Regions from separate parts of the Homo sapiens genome. Here regions 1, 2, 3, 4 and 6 are each linked to region 5. The links are contacts of gene promoters, found by promoter capture Hi-C in blood cells and fetal thymus (Javierre and others, 2016). All regions are on one chromosome and are shown on one strand. Each heading gives the region's core, a stretch centred on a gene start or on the middle of the fragment in contact. The rest is flanking DNA. Distances are from core to core; before and after follow the strand shown.

Region 1 (3,306 bases), core at 670-3,169, 580 kb before region 5:
CTTGTGTTAGTTTGCTGAGAATGATGGTTTCCAGCTTCATCCATGTCCCTGCAAAGGACATGAGCTCATCCTTTTTTATGGCTGCATAGTATTCCATGGTGTATATGTACCACATTTTCTTTATCCAGTCTATCATTGATGGGCATTTGGGTTGGTTCCAAGTTTTTGCTGTTGTGAATAGTGCCTCAATAAACATATGTGTGCATGTGTCTTTATAGTAGAATGATTTATAATCTTATGGGTATATACCCAGTAATGGGATTGCTGAGTCAAATGGTATTTCTGGTTCTAGATCCTTGATGAATCGCCACACTGTCTTCCACAATGGTTGAACTAATTTACAGTCCCACCAACAGTGTAAAAGCATTCCTATTTCTCCATATCCTCTCCAGCATCTGTTGTTTCCTGGCTTTTTAATGATCGCCATTCTAACTGGTGTGAGATGGTATCTCATTGTGGTTTTGATTTGCATTCCCCTAATGACCAGTGATGATGAGCTTTTTTTCATGTTTGTTGGCTGCATAAATGTCTTCTTTTGAGAAGTGTCTGTTCATATCCTTCACCCACCTTTTGATAGGGCTGAGTGTTTTTTTCTTGTAAATTTGTTTAAGTTCCTTGTAGATTCTGGATATTAGCCCTTTGTCAGATGGATAGATTGCAAAAATTTTCTCCCATTCTGTAGGTTGCCTGTTCACTCTGATGATGGTTTCTTTTGCTGTGCAGAAGCTCTTTAGTTTAATTAGATCCCATTTGTCAATTTTGGCTTTTGTTGCCATTGCTTTAGGTGTTTTAGTCATGAAGTCTTTGCCAATGCCTATATCCTGAATGGTATTGCCTAGGTTTTCTTCTAGGATTTTTATGGTTTTAGGTCTTACATTTAAGTCTTTAATCCATCATGAGTTAATTTTTGTATAAAGTGTAAGGAAGGGGTCCAGTTTCAGTTTTCTGCATGTGGCTAGCCAGTTTTCCCAACACCATAAAATGGTATTTTTTGAGTGACAAATGCTTAGGACCAGTAAAAGTTAAACTAGAAGAAGAGGTATAAACCAGGGGAAAACACTACCTAAAGTGTTTTCCTACAGTTCAATTGTAGTTGATGAATACTTGTAAAATGAAAAATCTTTTTGTGATGGGGAGAATTCACAGTTACTGAACTGCCTGATTTATTTTATTTTATTTTATTTTATTTTATTTTATTTTATTTTATTTTATTTATTCTTGAGATAGAGTCTCATTCCGTCACCCAGGCTGGAGTGCAGTGGCGCCATCTCGGCTCACTGCAACCTCCGCCTCCTGGGTTCAAGTGATTCTTGTGCCTCAGCCTCCCTAGTAGCTGGGATTACAGGCATGCACCACCACACCTGGCTAATTTTTGTATTTTTAGTAGAGATGGAGTTTCACCATGTTGGCCAGGTTAGTCTTGAACTCCTGACCACAGGTGATCTGCCTACCTCTGCCTCCCAAAGTGCTGGGATTACAGGTGTGAGCTTACAGGCGTGAGCCACTGAGCCCGGCCTGAATTGCCTGATTTAGAACACATCTTTTCACACATCTGTCTGTAACTAGGGGCTCATTATCCAGTTTATGAATTATCCAGGCTCTCCTCTTCTTCCCTTTCCTATGCTACCATGTGATTTTACACAGTGGTTTCCAAAAGTGTGGTCCCACTTTTGGGGCCAAGCAGCATCAGCATCCCCAGGAAACTTGTTAGATACAAATTCTTGGACCCCATCCAGACCTACTGAGTCAGACACTCTAAGGCGGGACTCAGTAATCTGTGTTTTATCAAGGTGATTCTAATGCCACTCAAGCTTGAAAACCACTGTTAACATCCCAATTAGAAAATAAAAATAACTGGAGTAGAAAAGAAGATTAAATATTAAAAAGCCCTATGTCAAGGGAAAAAATAGGAACTGTCCATGAATATACAAAACTTTACTTGAAATAAGAATTCACAGCATGAATGAACAAGTCAAGTGTAGCAAAGCATTGCTAAATGCATATTTTAAAATTCTATGAGTTAATAAAAAGCTTTCAAAGAAACTGTCTTCCTCTTTGTAACTAACTTCAATATGACTCACCTAAAATCATATTTGTTACATTCAGATTAGCCCAAACATCCGAAGAACAGGTGAAAGATTTTGGTAAGTCATGTACTTTATTACTGTCAGACTTAAAATATTTATTATTATCTAAAGTTCAAATTCAGAGTTCAAAAATTAAAAGTTCAAAATATTGCTCTTTTTTTTTAAATTAGCAATTGTGAAAAATATAATTACATATTTAAATCAGCTGTTGAGTGAGACTGCTATAGGAGTATATAAATGTCTAGATCATCTGTAAGTTGGACTTTTAAGTTGGAATTTTCTAAATAAGTTATGCTGGTTAGCCGTAAAATAAATGTTATAAAAACTGTCTTTTCTTCCTCCTGTCCCCAAAATAAGATTAAGAAGAGAAAAGTGCAGTAGGTGAATTCCAACATAAATCTGACCCACGTCAGATTTATCAGAGCAGATCACCAAACTCACTGGTCCACCCTGACTGCACTGGGTCACTTGAACTCTTCTGAACATGTACATTTCTATGACTGTAGACTACAGAGCCTTCTTTGTGGCTATGGACGCTACTACAGACCAGACCACCAGCTCTGCCAATACAAATAGAAAAGTCAGGATGTGTGACCAGAGGAAATAAACAAGTGGCATCCACTCCCTTTATTTTATCTCATTTTATTTCTTTCAGATTATTTCAGCCAAAGTTGAAAGCTCTTTAAGAATGGATTGGGGATAAACCAGGGATCCTCTGGGCAGTTTTTGATTTGACCTTCTATACAATAAAAGGGAGAAACAAAAGAATTATAAAACATTCTGCTGGTTGGAAGGTTGAGTAACCAAGGAAAGAAAATAACACAGATGTTAGATGATGGGCCTGAGGTGGGCATGAATTTAAAGAACCACTGGCAAGTGCCACGTCCTCTGTGTTTGAGTTCTAAAGATAGTCCGTTGAGCACACTGCTTACCTTCTAGTAATTTCTCGCTGAATGGACATTAGAAGCCATTATAGTGACTGAAAGTTGAAATAATGTTTTAAACTAATTTGTATTTCTCTACATCCATTTTTAATAAGGTATCTCTTAGTCTGATCTATTAAAGTTTAAGGGATCACCTCACCATAAAACCACTGAACACTTCAAGATTCTCTACTTTAAAGGAAAGACTTCTGACAGAGAACCTGTCAGCCAGGAGGAGCTGTCATCCAGTGACTCATGAGTCCTTCTGGATTCTTGTTTAAACTCATCAAGGTGAC
Region 2 (3,215 bases), core at 166-2,665, 670 kb after region 5:
GAGGCACCTGAAGGCACATAAGGCAGGGAAGTGAAACCGACTGTAATTCTTCAGTTCACTTCTCTGCAGCCTCCAGTGAGCCAGTCTCCATACGGTGGCCCAGCTGAGCTCTGAGGAAGTTCAGAGTCCCCGCGCAGGTGCAATTTACCAACCCCTCACAGGCGCTCTGGGAGCAAAGAAGCCAGACATATGCATGTGAAAGGCTTTGGGAGCAGCAGAAAAGAAAGCCTCTAAGCTTAAGTTTATGAGATTAAAAAGAAGAGGAACTCTCTTCTATGAAAGGAAAAAATGAAAGACATTTATAACTCAACCGGCCATCATTTTCCTTTTGAAGAATGAAATATAAATTGCTGAGAGCTGTCGAAAATTCTAATGTTCCCACTTCCTTCTGATGCCCTTGGTTTCACCTTTGGTTCCCTCCAACTTCATTCCTCTGGTGTTAACAGTCTCTGACTATTTCTGTGCTATCAGTGATATCATGAATATGTCCTAGTGATTTTTTGATAGGCAAAAGTGCATTCAGGTAAATTTTGCTAAATATGTCTTTTAAAATTAATAATATACAAACTTAAAACAGCATTTTATGTTTAGTTTTTCTACAATCTCAGCTGATCTTTCTACAAATGCTGCTAAGTATTTAGAACTATAATTATTAACCCATTTTACTGCTGCAGGACTCGGCTAACGTGGAGCCAGGCCACTCATTTAGGTTTATGATTTCAAAGGCAGCAGTGTTTCCACAATAGTATTACTTCTTTTTTCAGTTCAACTGAAAAACATGCTGATTTTTCCATTTTAAAATGTATCTATGCAGTAAATAATCCTTAGCAGGGCCTACAACTTCCTGTATGATTTGGACAACCCCTCTTGCCACAAATGTAGCCACACATCCTTTTTTTTTTTTTTTTTTTAAGTTCCTGGAAGGTGCCAAGCTCTTTTCTGCCCAGGAGTTTTGCAGGTGGTCTTCTCTCAGCTTTGCCTCTCCAATTGCATATTTTGCCTTCTCCCCAGGCCTATTACTTAGAATGGCTCATCTTTCAAGGCTCATCTTATACCTTTGTTGCAGAGAAAGTCTTCTCCAGTCACTCGGATAAGGTTACAGCTGTCTGTTATAGGGTGTCCCAGCCCATGCCACTTTTCTCTTGTAGGTTATGTATTGCCAGTGTGATTATTTTGTGTTACTATTTACTCTTTCTCTTTTTACTGTAAATTGCATGCAGTCAGAAATGTGGCTGTCTTGTTCAACTCTGTATCTCAGAACTTAGCTCAGAGCTTGATGTACCATATACGTTCAATACAAATGTGGGGGTTATTCCATAGCACAACTTCTGATTAGTAGTAAATTGCAATGCATCACTCCAAGTTTCCACTATCAGTGTGACACAGTCATGGGCCTGCATTTAGAAAGCTGTCAGAGGTCCTGAAGTTCTCCTTGCTTCTCAGGTCTTTTGCCAGGTCAAATTACATGGGAATTAAGATGATTTTGCAATGAATGCAGTTATATGTTTATCTCCTTATATTCACAGAATGGGTTGTCCCCTTTGAACTCCGAGACTTCTGAAACTACTGCATTACCTAGCACAACAATGGATTTAAAAAAAAAACAACAAAAAATCTTATTAACTCAGATTACATATACATAGTTATTGAACCGAATGGTATTATAGGCGGTAAGGTACCATGATTGACATTTTTTTCTTGTGAAAATATTTTCTTTCTTTTGAGGACTGACTTTTTTTTTCTTTTTAATGAAATTCTGTCTATAACTCTAAATTATATAAGGTTGGGTATGCCATGATTTAAGTGTTTCTTGATTTGTTCTTATCTTGATTTGTAAATGTTGAACACCTAATTTCCAGTCTTTAGAAATTTCTTGCCCATCTTCTTTTTCTTCCTTTTTCAGATAGTTCACATTCTTAATAACTTGTTTGATACCCCTTATTTCCTTGCATTTTTCTTACTTCTTGTTTTTTCTTCTTTTTCTCATTACCCTATAATTTATTTTCTCTTTTTACGGTAGGCATTCCATAATACCTTTCTGCTTTACTTCTAGTGTTGCAAATAGTTCTAATCCTATTTGCATTAATATTATTTGTGAAGAGATAAACCTCTCTGCTATTTACAGTAAAATGAACACACTCATTGTATCATCTGTACTACAACAGATAGCCTTTCTCTGGTTAAGTGATCCTCCTACCCATATCAAAATAGTGTTTTTTTGTTTTAATTTAAAGAAATCATCATTAGTAATGCCTGTATTGTGAATTATCTTGGAAATCAATGGAAAGGACATGGAAAATGAACATGTTTTCTGAATTCTAAGTGAATGAGAGAAGACAAACATTTATGATCTAACAATTGTTAAATTGATTTTCTTGAAACAAAATATAAACAGAATAAATTTTCAGTTAGAGAGGTCTTATTTTGTTATTAAAATATACAGGTATTTTTATAATTCCAACTTCTACCTGGTTATTTAATCACCTGAAAGTATCCCCAACATGAATAGTGTTTTACTGTCACAAAAACAAATCTGACACCCCTTTAGTACTTCAGTGCACAGAAATCCAGGGAAACCAACTTTTGGTTCAAATTCAAGCTTCAAGGTTTTTTTTTTTTTTTCATAGTTAAACAGAAATTTCTTATTTTTCTTTCTTTTCTTTATTTAAAGTGCATTGGCTCATTCTATTTTTAGTAAGTCAATATTATAGTGCCAAATCTCAGCAACTTATTATTTAGCCCCTTAATTCAGAACTAATAATTAAGTGCTGTAGACCAGAAGGATAGAATTCTGGCTTTCTAATGTCTTCCCCTCGTTCTTCATTGGTTGAGTGGCCTGAAGAAGAGTTAGATGGCAGGAACTTTTAATGACTTTTGTGGTGTGATAAAACAGAAGTGGAAGGTGTAGATAAGAGTTTGTCTTTTGTAAATGCCACATCTCCAATATATACTCATAATGGCAGGGTTATTTCCCTGGTGATAAGGACCTCTGACTCAACACTATTCAGATAATTGGGTAAATTACTTATCTTCTCTGAGTCCCAGTTTTCTCATCTTTAAAAAGGCTTAAAGGGTGCTGTAAAGATTAGAAACACTGTAAGTGATAAGTCAAGCTTGTGGTAGTTGCTCAGACAGTGATAGCTACTATTATTATTGGCCAACAACAGGTTGTGTGTATGTTTGCGTGTGTGTAATCATCTTTAAAATTACCTATA
Region 3 (2,882 bases), core at 237-2,736, 710 kb after region 5:
TTCTTCTCTTTTTGTAAAGCATGCCAGCAATCTTTAATCATGCTGTGATTTTCTACATGCCACCCAGGTTAGCTTCTGAAATAGTCAAACAAAGATTTAACCCACAGACACATAAATATCTAATCTACACTTTCCAGAGAGTCCTCAGAAGCATGTAACTATTATTATTCTTAGTATATAGGTTGTTTTTATTTTTTTATTTTTATATTCATTACTGGAAAGAAACATTTCCTCCTATTATAGATTTTAATAAAAATTCAGGTGTTATTACAGTATTTTTTTCTGGTGCTTACTCTTTCTTGGTGTAATTCACATGCAAAGCATTTCATAACTTTTTTTTCTTTTAAAAGAAGAAAAGTAAAAAGGATAGAGTTAATCTACTAGTTGCTTCACAGGTCACCTAGTTTTCAGCTGATAAGAACTAATTTGATCAATAGAGTTTACCTCTTGAAAATGAGAAGCTTTAGAAAGAAAGATTAGTAAAGGAGAAAATATGCTAAAAGGGATTAAGACCAAGACTATCAAATGCTCTCAATATTAATAGTGATGACACTGTTCACCTATCTTACTAAATGTTGAAGATGAGCTATGCAGTCACTGTGATGGAAGATGAGGATAGTTAAGAGAGTTAGAGTCTGAGACAAATGCAAATGGACACAGCCAGGACGAAAACATTCGACAAGCAACAGCCAAAAAATCCAGAGGAAGGAATTTCACCTGCAATACAAGTAGAACTTAGAAAAGTAAAGCACACATCAGATTTTTTTTTTAATTCAGTGAACATTTGTTACCCTACCTGCTTTGATGTGGCCGTGATGATACGATACCTGGAGGGATGTTGAAGAAAGGCAAGGACACAGTTCAAAGGAACGGTCTCAGGATGATAGTATGGTAAATTGAGCTGATGAATAAATATCATAATTCCAGAGATGTACAGGAAGTAAGCAGTGGCAAAAGTATCACTTAAATAATTTTGAATTGTTTTCTATCCTTCATTGGCAAATAAATCAAGATCCTTTTACCTAACCCAATGAGATTTCCAACAGGAAGCTTCTTACTGTTAAGACCCAGAGATTGTCCGTGCGTTTGCATTACATACTCCTTCATTACTGAGCAATGGTCAGAGGAAAATGCTGGAGCTACTTTTTGGAGTGAATTGAAGCACATGATACGAGATGAGACAAAAATACCATGGTATCAATGATTATGGCATAACCAACTGGACTAGGTGCCTGATGTGGTCGGCCTTTCTGCATTTCCTTCTTCCTTAGATTTCTGCTTTACAGATTTACTTTCATTCTTTTCAGATCTCCAGTGCATGCAGTGGAAAACCTTCTTAAGCATTCCTCTCTCTGTTTTTTTTTTTTCTCTGAATAGGTTGCACGCTTCCTTCACCCTGTGAGAAATAGATCTGGCACCTTTGAGGCAGGTTACTCAAAGTATAGTGGGAATGTCTTTTGTTATTTGTTGAACTTCATACAAAGGTCCTCCTTCATCATACCCAATGTGCTGTTTGCAAAATGCACTGCAAATAACCATCCATCACTTTACATCATTGTCACATTTTACCACTTTGTTTCTTCTCCTCCAGGTAAGTGAAAATGATTATCTGGCTGAGATCATAATCATTGCTGATCGGTACTTGGCCTCCTGCAAAGTTCCGTGCAAGCACAGAGACTTTTTGTAAGATGCCACTGGGCAGATGTCAAATGGAGTGCCCTCCCCCATCACCATCTTGGTCCTGAAAAACTTAATAACTTGGTATTGTTCAGTGAGTCATTCAAGCGAGTAGTGTGGAATTCTACCTGTTCCTCAAGGCAGAGTATCTGCTAAGCTGCTGCAAAGAGTGTTAGCCATTCATGGCTCTTTCTGTGCATAAAGAGCTCATGGTTGGGAGACAAGGTGAATGCAAACCCGGAGTGAAAGCTTTGTAACTTCTGTGTTTGTCTGAAATCGTGCACAAATTAAGCCAGTATGCAAAACAGAGCTCAACAAATATATTCCTCTTTTTAGTGGTATTTTCAGTGCTAGTTTTTCACTTTTTTTTTTTTTAAAGACCAGGAAAGAGGTATCCTGGAAACAGATCAAAAACACAAGGAGATGAAAACTTTAAAGTGATCAAGCCACACAGTTTCACAAATGATAACATAAAGGTTTTTAAAAACATTGGTTGTAATTTCTACTAGGTGTCACAACTCAGTGAACCATTACGAGTGAACCAGCTCAGTGAACCAAACTGAACTGAACAGATGGAATTCCACCCTTACTACGCTTGAAAGGCTCCATGAACAATACAAGTCTTCTTTTAAGTTCCCCTTTGAGCTGCTTACCTCACTAATGCAAACATGTGGGGGCTGCAGGATAGAACATGGCCCCTTGGCTGTTTGTTCAGTTGTGTGGTGCCGTTGTTCCAGCAGAAGGAAGGCAGTCCATTTTGAAATCCTCAGGGCCATGCTCCTCATTTTCAAAGTCCCAGTGTTATTTTCCATTTGTTCTCAAATATATGTTAGAGAGTGGAGTGTTTTGTTTTCTTTTACTTTTCCCTTGAGTTGTAATTCACTTTAATCTGTCCAGAAAAACCTTGAAAGATTTTTTTTTGTAAATATGCCTGAACAACAATTGGCTGTAGCCAATTCATTAAACACTAATCAATTGCTATATTCATTAATTCAATAATATGGTGCCTAGCTAGTACCAGGCACCATACGGACATTGCGTGGAATCTAAAATGGAAAAAATTCAAGTCTTTGCTTTTAAGGAATTATAATTTAGTAGAATAGATAAGCCAGACATAGATAATTGTGTTTTTGAAAATACTTTATCATTCAAGTGGCTCCTTGATATCTGTCCCCCTTCCTGCTCACCTTCCTCTTTTGACTCAT
Region 4 (2,928 bases), core at 9-2,508, 600 kb before region 5:
GTTTTTACTTCTGATTCCCTGTTTGTGTCAACATGATGAAAAGAAAGCTTTTTTCACAGCTAAAGCGAAAGCCCCTGACTCTTCATCAACAGTGTCTATGCTTTGAGTCACTCTGCCCTGGCAGGTTCAACACCTGGTTCACAATTACTCATCCTTTAAGAATCACTTCAGCAAACTTCCTCCAAGAAGCCTTTTCTAACCCCATAGTCCAAAGTGTGAGGTGGGAAACCTTCATTGTTCATATACTGCATGTGTAGTTCTACCACAGTGGTTATATTATTTTATTTTATAAGTAATTATAGTTATATTATTTTATAAGCACCTATTCTTGTTTCTTTCGATACAGGAAAACATTTAATTTTGCATTTCTAGTAAAATGAAAATTAAATGTTTGTTGAACAGGGACAAGGTAAATATTGAATAAACTAGTAGAACTAAACCAAAAAACAGATTCCTCCTCATATTTCCCTTCTCAGATTACCTGGGAGTATTTCACATTTTGTCCTGTGTCCATATGCCCTTTGCTAATCAACATTCTATGAGTAATCCTCCTGACCATGATAACCTTTTTTTATAACAGCTACACAACTCTATGATTTGTTTATAAAGCATTTTAAAAGGATAGCAACCAGATTTAGCTCTCACCTGTGAAACATTAATTCTAATACATATACTCATGAGATTTTCACTGGAATTAAGTGGTCAGCCACTTATCAGACCTTTAGCAAAGAACTGTCCATTTTTAAAATAATATTTAATGCTAGGATGTGTTGGCAGTAAGGAGCAGTGTTAGTAGAAAAGAGATATATTAATTTTCATTGATCTTTCTGAAACCCTTTAAAGTATTTTTGGTTTTAGATCATATTAAAGGGGTGATTTTAATGAGCTAATCACTTGAAGATTATTCTTATCTGTGTATGTGTGTGAAGCAAAGTATTCTGGAAAACATAAATTCAGGTAGATATTTTGAATATATCTAGATGTTAAAGGTAATTATTATCCACACAAAATATGTTTTGAACTAATCCATTCTAAATGTCTTAAGAAAAGTACATTTACCGTAATGTTCAACTAACTTGGGGGAGGAAAACATGAAAGTTAAAATTTTCACATCCTGTTAAGACTTCAATTTATTTTAAACAAATCCTTAGTCCTTTGTTGGTAATGGCTACATTTATTTTTGTGCACAGAGATGTATGAAACAGATTTACTCTAACCCCAGCATAAAGAAGTTAGGAGCCAGAGAGTTAGCTGTGAAACATCTGATTCTCAAGAAGTTCCTTCACCTCTCTGAGTCATAAGTTTTAGAATTTTTAAAGTAGAACTAATTCAGGAGTGACATGCTATGGCACTGGATGACATATTGGCACCTTCTCTCAAAGTCCTGGGGAAAATGTCTTATAGAAGGAATACTACCTTGAAACTAACTTTGATAGCCTTCAGGGGAGGTTGAATAATACAACAGAAATAAAGTTTGCATTGGCTATTTCTCATTCTGGAAGCTATGATTATCTTCATTGCTGAATAGAAACCAAAGACTTAATAATGAGGCATAAATACTTCTCTATAGGACTCAATTGCAAGGGCACAAATTTAAGGCAGGACTGACACATAGTTTCCTACAATGATTTCTGCAAGTGATTTGGTAAAGCCTCACTTCTTAAATCAGGAGTGCTCCCAGCATGATGGCAAACGAGAAGTATCCCCAAGGTGTGCTAATACCCACATCTAGCTCAAGAGAAAGGAGTGGAAATTAAGACATATTTCCTCCAGATTCAATGATGTAAAAAAGTTTACTGAGAGTATCCCATAGTACAGAGCACAGTTTGGGGCACTTCTGAGCACATTAATGAGCTAAGTCCTCAACTAATTCAGCCACCGTCACTTAAGTAACTGCATGAGAAAATCCACTCAGCAGCTAAGCCCCAAACATATGGAGAATGTGCTTCTCTCAGCTCAAATAGGCAGTGGTCCTTGGGGAACTGAGAAGAAAGAGTGTAATGAGGAGGTGGTGACTGTACTGGATCTTGAAGATTGGCACTTGGGAGAGAAGGGTGAGAGATGCTACCAGAGGGAGAGGGGGCATTTTGGACCACAGAAGGAACTCTACTATTTGAGCCAAATTTAATACCAAACCTCTCTTTCTAGTCTCCAAATAACCCTTTATGCTTATATAGGTGTGGAAAAAAAGTTAGATATTACATTTGAACTCAATTGAACATGGACACAAACAACGGTCACCAAGTCCCAGAACAGGTCATGTGAGCCCCTTGAGGAATTCATCCAGCACTGTTTCGAAGAAATCTCTATTTCAATCTACACCTATACGTTAGTTATTGAAAAACAACAGACAGTCGCAAAAACAAGTTGACCTTTTGTGTTATCTGAGCCCAGTCTCGAAGGGCCCTCGTGACTGGGCCTCATGCCGAACAACTGGTTACAAAAAGAGCTAGGGTCCCAGACTGCAACGAAGCTTCAAGAGACATCTTCTTGTCTGTGTACAGATGAGTGGCCGACTCTGGAGCCCAGGCTGTTGCTTCTCAGCCTGGTGATGAATCCTCCATAGTCTGAGGAGTGTGTATATGTGTGTGTGTGTGTGTGTGTGTGTGTGTGTGTGTATATATATATATATATACACACACATATACACACATATACATATATATCTTTTCCCTTCTCCCCTTCCCATTGCAATTTGCTTATTATATCAATTTTCTTATTATATCATTGACTTATTGTATCATTTGTTTATTATATCTGCATTGCCATTTACGTGGGATAAAGGTTGTTTACTCCTAAAAGTACTGTGCGTGGCTTCTCCCCTCACAGGTCTCCCACACAGAACATTTTTGGCGTCACGAACAGGATCTGAAAGCGAAAGCATGCCATTTTCCACCACAAGGACCGGGCTGGGAGGTCCCCATATTC
Region 5 (3,284 bases), core at 342-2,841:
GCTGTTAAAAATTTGAACTCAAAGAACCATTTTATAAGTGAATGTGAAAAGCACCTGAACTACTGCTATTAGCTGCCCCTCTCGTCACGTGCTCTTCCTCCTTCCAGGAAATCTGAAGCTAGTATTAGCTTTCTTGTCTTGCTTCCACTGCGCTTGCTGCTAAGGAGGAAAAGCAACAAAAATACAAAATATAGTTTGGTAGAGGGAATTAGCTATTCATTGGACAAATTATTATTATTCTAGGAATCAATGCTTTTGAGATGTACATTAAAACCCATTTCCTCCATAAAGTTTTCTGTTAACTCTATATATTTCTAATCATTCCATTTCCTATCCTCATTATAGCCATCGTTTAATGCAAAATTTAATACTTTGGCAAATACCATTTTTTCTCTCTCATTCTGATAGATATGTAATAATGTAAACAGGTTGAGAGCAAAGTTCATGACATCTGCATAACACCTAACAATGCCAATGTCAACATAGACAATAAATGGCAGAATTGATTTAAATAGTCCCTTAAATGGCTTCTGTTTATTCATTTAGACCATGGGGGAGGGTTTTAACAAAGGATGGTAATAAAACCTTTCTTTTCTCTGAAGCTAATTGTAGATGCTGTATAATGTTCCAGATTTTCCTTAGCTTCTTTCACGTCATTGTGGATCCCATCTTATCGATTTATCCTTTTTTTGTTCTTCTTTTTTTTTGAGAGTCTCACTCTGTCGCCAGGGCTGGAGTGCAGCGGCGCGATCGCGGCTCACTGCAACCTCTGCCTCCCGGGTACAAGCGATTCTCGTGCCTCAGCCTCCCGAGTACCTGGGATTACAGGCTCCCACCACCATGTCCGGTTAATTTTTGTATTTTTAGTAGAGATGGGATTTCATCACGTTGGCCAGGCTGGTCTTGAACTCCTGACCTCAAGTGATCCAACCGCCTTCGCTTACCAAAGGGCTGGGATTACAGGTGTGAGCCACCGCGCCCGGCCTTTTTTCTTTCTTTTTTTTTTTTTTTTTTGAGACGGAATCTCACTCTGTTACGCAGGTTGGACCATCTTATAGATTATCAATTGTACAGATAATTGCACTCCGGCCTGGGAGACAGAGTGAGTACCTGTCTCAAAAAATAAAATAAAATAAAATAAAATTAAAAAAAACACTTAAATTAGTGAATAACCTTGGTGAAAAGCCACGTCCATGCTTCTACGGCATTTCTCTTCAAAGCTAAAAAAAAAAAGAAAAAATCAAAAATCAACCCAAAGGTGTAGTAGAAGACTGCATCTGCGACCGTATTTAAGCATCGGTCATGCTGTTAAAGGAGAAAGTGGACATCCTCTCAAGGAAACTTTAATCCTGCCCCCAAAGGATTAAAATCCCGTAACAAATATTTGTTTATAACACATCTTGACAAGATCAAAACATTCTGGTAGGGCAAATAGTAAAGACTAAATCTTGAACATTGACGAAAACTTCCTGAAAGGCCCAATGTATTTGACAGGAGAGGTAACTGGGGTCCCGGGCCTAGCGAGGCGGGGCGGGGAGGCGCAGGTGTCACCGCGGGCGCCCAGCTGCTTACGTCACAACCCGCGGAAGGCGCCGTGCGCCGGTTGCTATACAGGCCGCACTTCACACCCCGTGCCTCCCCGCCTCTCCTGGCTCCTCCGCCCAGATCCCCGGCGCTCCCGCGTTCGGTGACGGCCGGGTAGGCTGTAGGCAGCGCAATGCCAAGACAGAGCTGCTGGCGGCGGCGGGCGAATCTCCCTGCACCATGAGCCTCGGCTCCGGCCCCGTTAGGGGCCGATAAGCACAGCGCACGCCGCCCTCCATTTGCCCCGGGGCCTCGGCTGCGAAGATAGCGGCGGCCGGACAGGAAGCTCGAGGAAAGCGCTGGGCCGGGTCTCTACGAACACGTGAAGGAAAAGCAGCTCCGTCCACAACGCCGCTTCGGGGCTCCTAGGTGAGAGTCTCCCCGGCGGAAGCGTGGAGGGGCCGGGGTGCCGGGAAGCGGGGCGGGGAGGAAGCCGCGGACACGGGCTGGGCACTCGGGGCTCGGGGTCGGGGTGAGTAGAGGCGGAAAAGCAGTGAAAAGGGAGGCCTTGGGCGAAGACGGGGGCTGAGGGCGGGGCGCGAGCCCGCGCCTGGAGCCCGGTGAGGGCGTGGCCTAGAGCGTGAGGCCGCGTCCTGGGGCGGGGTGAGGGGCGAGCGGGGCGGGCCCACGGCATGCTGCGAGCCCAGCCTCCCGCCAAGCACCGTCCCCCATCCAGCCCCCTGTGGGAGGAGCCGTGGGAGGGGTCGCCTCTTGCCCGGCGCGTGCGGCAGTAGCGTCTCTGCGTTCGGCCCCGCCCTACCCAGGGCCCCGCCCCCTTCCTGGCGCGCGCTGTATCCTGATGCGATCCCCCTCCCCCCTCCGGGTTCATGTAGGGAGTCGGGCCCCGGGCCGCCACCGTCACCTCGGCCGCTGCCGCTGTCGCCATCGCCTTGTTTCCCCATCCCCCGCCATGGCCGAGGACCTCTCTGCGGCCACGTCCTACACCGAAGATGATTTCTACTGCCCCGTCTGTCAGGAGGTGCTCAAAACGCCCGTGCGGACCACGGCCTGTCAGCACGTGTGAGTAGACGCCCCCTCCCCCTCGCGGAGCCGGGTTGTCGCTTAGGCCCGGCCTCCGGCCCGGGACCCCGGGCTGCCGCCTGGCGGGAACCGAGCCCGCCGCGGCCTGCCCGAGCGTCGCTGCCCCGCGAGGTCCCGTTCCCCGCCCCTCAGAGTCCCGGGGCGGCCTTTTCCTCAGCCTCGGGGCCCGCTCCCCGCGTCCAGCCCCCTCAGCCCAAGCTCCCGCTCTCCCGCTCTCCCGCTCTCCCGCTCTCCCGCTCTCCCTGGCTTTCGCGCCCCCGGGGCAGTGGCCAGGCCGTTCCCTGCGGCGTCTTCAGGCCCCGGAGGCCCCTGTCGTCTCCGCCAGGCCCGGGAGGAATTGCAGGGATCTTGGAGCCTTTTTGTTTCTTAGCAACCCGGGTGAAGGCTGGGGTGTCGAGTGTCAAAAGCGGCCGGCGGTGCTCGCGCGGGCCCGCTCGCCCCGCGACCTGCCCTGCTTTCAAGTTTCCTCTTTCAGAACCTTGGTCCGTCCCCTCGGTCCAAGAGCTCTTCTGTAACTTCCCCTCAACCCTGCTTCACAGAACACCCTCGAGAGCGTTTTGTTTCGTTTCCAGTCCACTATGTGTTAGAGGGATCTAGAATGAGTTTTCTTCTCTGGTCTCTTAAAACTGACAGGATTTTCGGGCATTGAAATGAGCGTT
Region 6 (3,290 bases), core at 577-3,076, 650 kb after region 5:
TAACTTAAAGTAAAAGCCAAAATGAAAAAATTGTGAGCCTGCCATTGAAGTTCCTGTATGGCCTGGTCTCTGCCAGTGTCTTTAGCCACATCTCCTATCTGTTTCCCCCTCACTCTTTGAGTTCAGCCACGCACCTTCTTTTTGCAGCATCTTTGCCTTTACTGTTAACTAACCTGGAGCAATCTTATCTCACATCTTCACCTGGGCACTGCCTAACTCCTTCTTATCCTTCAGTTGTCAGTGCAAATGCCATTTCTTTAGTAATATTCCCCATGACTCCTTGATTAGATCAGGACTCTCCACTGCCAGATCTTATATATTTTATACCCTTCTCTCAGAGCACTATCACATTTTCTTATTATATATTGCTACCTGGGATTATTTATTAATGCTGGTTTCCCTCTCTAAACTATTAACATGGTGATATTTGTTTTGGCTCAGCGTGGTATCCTCTGTGCTTAGCACAATCTCTGTTACATAGAAGATACCAATTATATTTGTTAAATGAATGAAATGAGTGTGTAAAATGAGAGGGTTGGGCATTGAGATCATTTATTCTTTCAGTACTTACATTCAATGATTTGCCAGACTTAGTCTGTAATTTGCCCAGGAATGACACACAGCAAATTTAAACAGCCCGCATGACTCATACCTCCTTCATTTCAGATTCAGTAGCACATACCACAGCTTATGTCTAAAGAAGGTATCAGAATTATTTGTACACATGCTGTTCTCTGGAGAAAAAACAATTGCTATATTCAAGAGAGGTATAAGCCAGAAATAAATGAGAGATGGCCAAAGAAGGTCAACCAGTTTTTCTAGGTACCCAGCTTCCTTGAAATACAGTATTTGGAGTGACCACCACACATATTTTCTTAAAAATCTATGAAAAATCCACTAATGCACTGGTGCATGAATACACAGTAGCAAATAATTCAAGATATATAGCAATGTGCAGCCATGTATCTCAAATTAGAATTGAGCTCATTGAAGGTAAAATTAGATGCTAACATATTTAAAAAGTCCAAACACAATTGTCTCTCCTTCTTTGTCCAAAGCCATGGAAACGATTGCTCCATGCTCTGAAACAAAAAATTCCAAGCTAAGAGAGATCAACTGCTATGATATTGTATATAATATTTAGATCCCTGTTTTTTTCAGTAACCCTGAAAACAAAAAATAGAGGGGTATCCCTACTTGCAATTCTTAATTCTTGAACCTGTCTTGATAATTCCTTGAAATAGTCTCCATGTGATATGGTTCTTGGTTAATTCTGCAGCCCCATTGCTTACTAGTCCAACTTCAGATTTTCCTATAGATACACAAATTTATTTCAGTTGCCAAAAGACACTATACTCCCTCTTGTCTTTTGGCATTCTCAATACTGGGTGGTCTTACTAAAATACTTTTCCATCTACCTTTTGCCTAGGTAATTCCTACCCATTTTTTCAGAGTTACAGATGGTCACTTCTAGGAAAGCTTTCCTAACCTCTCATGTTAACTTTAGGGGCTCATTTTTGTGTTCCCATAGCACCCTAGAATTTCTGTATGTATCTCTTAGCACCCTGTATTATAATTACTTCCTTAGGTTATTGAGAGGAGAGATTATCTTATGCATGTTCTATCCTACCATCCAACACAGAGTGGGTATTCAATAATTGCTTATTACATAAAGGAATGAGGTCTATAAATAAGTCTAAATTCTTCCTAGGCATTTTCAGAGTCGTTCAAAAGTACCTCATTGTTTTCTGAAGTTCTCCTGCAATGAGAAACACACTATCTATGAACCCTACCTACCTGTCTAGAAATAACATTAAATTAAATGGTTTGTGGGTTTTAGTTCTTGGTAATAAAGGTAATATGAATAAAGGAAACCCACAGGTACAAAGCCCTTAATTTAACTTACATTTTATTTTCTTCAAAACAAATAATGATAAATGATTATTAGGTTTTGACTAATTTTACTTTCCTCCCTTTATATCCTTAGGGAACAGAAATGAACTGAAATCAAGAAACAGAAGGGCCAAGGAAAGAAGTCCATTTGAATGTATCAACATGCAGGTTTATTAATTATTCCCTGAATAATCAACAACTAAACCATTCTGCATTGCTTGGCTATTGAATATGATCAAACCTATATTTATCATTTGGAACTGAAGTTCAATGTCTTATACAAGCTTTGTTTGCTCATGACTATTCCGTCACCATTTATAGAAAGTATAGTTTTTCAAAAGTGTGAAGAATCCACCAGCTTTCTGATCTTTGTGACTCCTCTTAAAGAAATAAATAACAACCAGACACAGGACCCCTCCTATCTGGATGGGATCAAGTTAAATGTCATCCGTGGGTCAGAGGAGACAACCTAGGAAACCACCACCCAACAGTTTCCTTTATTTTCCATGACTGAACACTAGAAAATTCCCAAATCCTTCCACTACAAAGAGAAAAGAGTTGTAAATCAACAGAACGGAAGAGAAACAAAAAGGCATTTCCTCTATCTTTAACAAAGGGAACTTAGAGTTATCAAGAGAAGGAACACGACTTTCTACTTAGCTCCATAATTTTCATTCTAATGTTATTAAAAAGAAGTCATCATTGGTACATGGAAGGATAAATCTATATTTTAAAGTCCCTCTTTTCTGTTGTTGGTCACAAAAGGCAACAAAGAAGCATCTAATAAATAGAATCTCTTATTTGAAACATTGGAAAAAGGATGCCAGCTCCTGGAAAATACCTTGCCCATCAGTAAAGAAATCGGTCCACAGGGAATAAAAATGGAATGGAGAGCTCTCCAATGCTGCCCTATGGGGAGAAATAAAAGGGGTCTCCACATGTGGACTTCATAAAAACTTTGATATAAAAGAAATCTATTATCAAAAGTACACGGTAACCCCAGCAAGTGTTCTGTTTAATCTTTGCACAGAGGATTTAGGGCCTGCAAAGTGCAAGAGGCATGATGCATTGGCCATTTTAGTATTCATGTCTCCTGTACTGCTTTCTAATAAGTTAAGATGAAACGGGAGACTGCGTGCAGGAGTGAGAGATGCAAGAAAAGCAGTACTGAGAAATAAAGATGAACAAAAGTGCATCTTGACTTCCCTTTTATTATTAACAGGCGAGAGAACAACAATGCCAAACTTATAATGTTATTACTTAACACTTCACATTTACAAAAAGACGTTGCAGTCATTTTTACATGTTATTTCTCAATATTTTTCTGATAGAGGCTTTTCTTATAATCAGTTTTTATGATGATATATGAAATGATTTTTCCAAAAAGGAAGATAAAC

What was found. Contacts are between HindIII fragments. The CHiCAGO score rates a contact against its expected background, and 5 or more counts as called.
Region 1: a fragment that was not itself captured here is called in contact with the fragment with the promoter of RNF138 in region 5 in 1 of 17 cell types (fetal thymus); the score reaches 6.8 in fetal thymus.
Region 2: a fragment that was not itself captured here is called in contact with the fragment with the promoter of RNF138 in region 5 in 2 of 17 cell types (total B cells and naive B cells); the score reaches 6.8 in total B cells.
Region 3: a contact is called between a fragment that was not itself captured here and the fragment with the promoter of RNF138 in region 5, in 1 of 17 cell types (total B cells). The highest score is 8.1, in total B cells.
Region 4: a contact is called between a fragment that was not itself captured here and the fragment with the promoter of RNF138 in region 5, in 1 of 17 cell types (fetal thymus). The highest score is 5.3, in fetal thymus.
Region 6: a fragment that was not itself captured here is called in contact with the fragment with the promoter of RNF138 in region 5 in 1 of 17 cell types (naive B cells); the score reaches 5.1 in naive B cells.

Annotation. Positions count from the first base shown.
Region 1 is chr18:31,507,192-31,510,497 of GRCh38, forward strand. All of the region lies in intron 1 of DSG2 (desmoglein 2), which reads left to right. Among named protein-coding and RNA genes, the nearest start is that of DSG2, 11 kb to the left of the region's middle. The HindIII fragment of the contact is 220 bases long and covers 1,810-2,029 here.
Region 2 is chr18:32,760,502-32,763,716 of GRCh38, forward strand. All of the region lies in intron 2 of KLHL14 (kelch like family member 14), which reads right to left. Among named protein-coding and RNA genes, the nearest start is that of KLHL14, 11 kb to the right of the region's middle. The HindIII fragment of the contact is 2,364 bases long and covers 234-2,597 here.
Region 3 is chr18:32,801,447-32,804,328 of GRCh38, forward strand. No RefSeq gene overlaps it. Among named protein-coding and RNA genes, the nearest start is that of KLHL14, 30 kb to the left of the region's middle. The HindIII fragment of the contact is 876 bases long and covers 1,049-1,924 here.
Region 4 is chr18:31,490,482-31,493,409 of GRCh38, forward strand. No RefSeq gene overlaps it. Among named protein-coding and RNA genes, the nearest start is that of DSG2, 6.2 kb to the right of the region's middle. The HindIII fragment of the contact is 2,426 bases long and covers 46-2,471 here.
Region 5 is chr18:32,090,283-32,093,566 of GRCh38, forward strand. RNF138 (ring finger protein 138) reads left to right here and starts at 1,592. Exons shown (of 8, transcript NM_016271.5): 1 at 1,592-1,953; 2 at 2,418-2,604. The coding sequence starts at 2,495. It overlaps LOC124904278 (a long non-coding RNA gene), which reads right to left and starts at 1,663. Exons shown (of 2, transcript XR_007066327.1): 1 at 1,573-1,663; 2 at 993-1,220. It also overlaps a transcript of RNF125 not described here. RefSeq lists an enhancer at 1,291-1,340 and a silencer at 2,011-2,430. The HindIII fragment of the contact is 10,157 bases long and covers 1-3,284 here.
Region 6 is chr18:32,735,364-32,738,653 of GRCh38, forward strand. All of the region lies in intron 3 of KLHL14 (kelch like family member 14), which reads right to left. LOC112268208 (a long non-coding RNA gene) reads left to right here. Exons shown (of 3, transcript XR_002958196.2): 3 at 1,988-3,088. Among named protein-coding and RNA genes, the nearest start is that of KLHL14, 36 kb to the right of the region's middle. The HindIII fragment of the contact is 698 bases long and covers 1,478-2,175 here.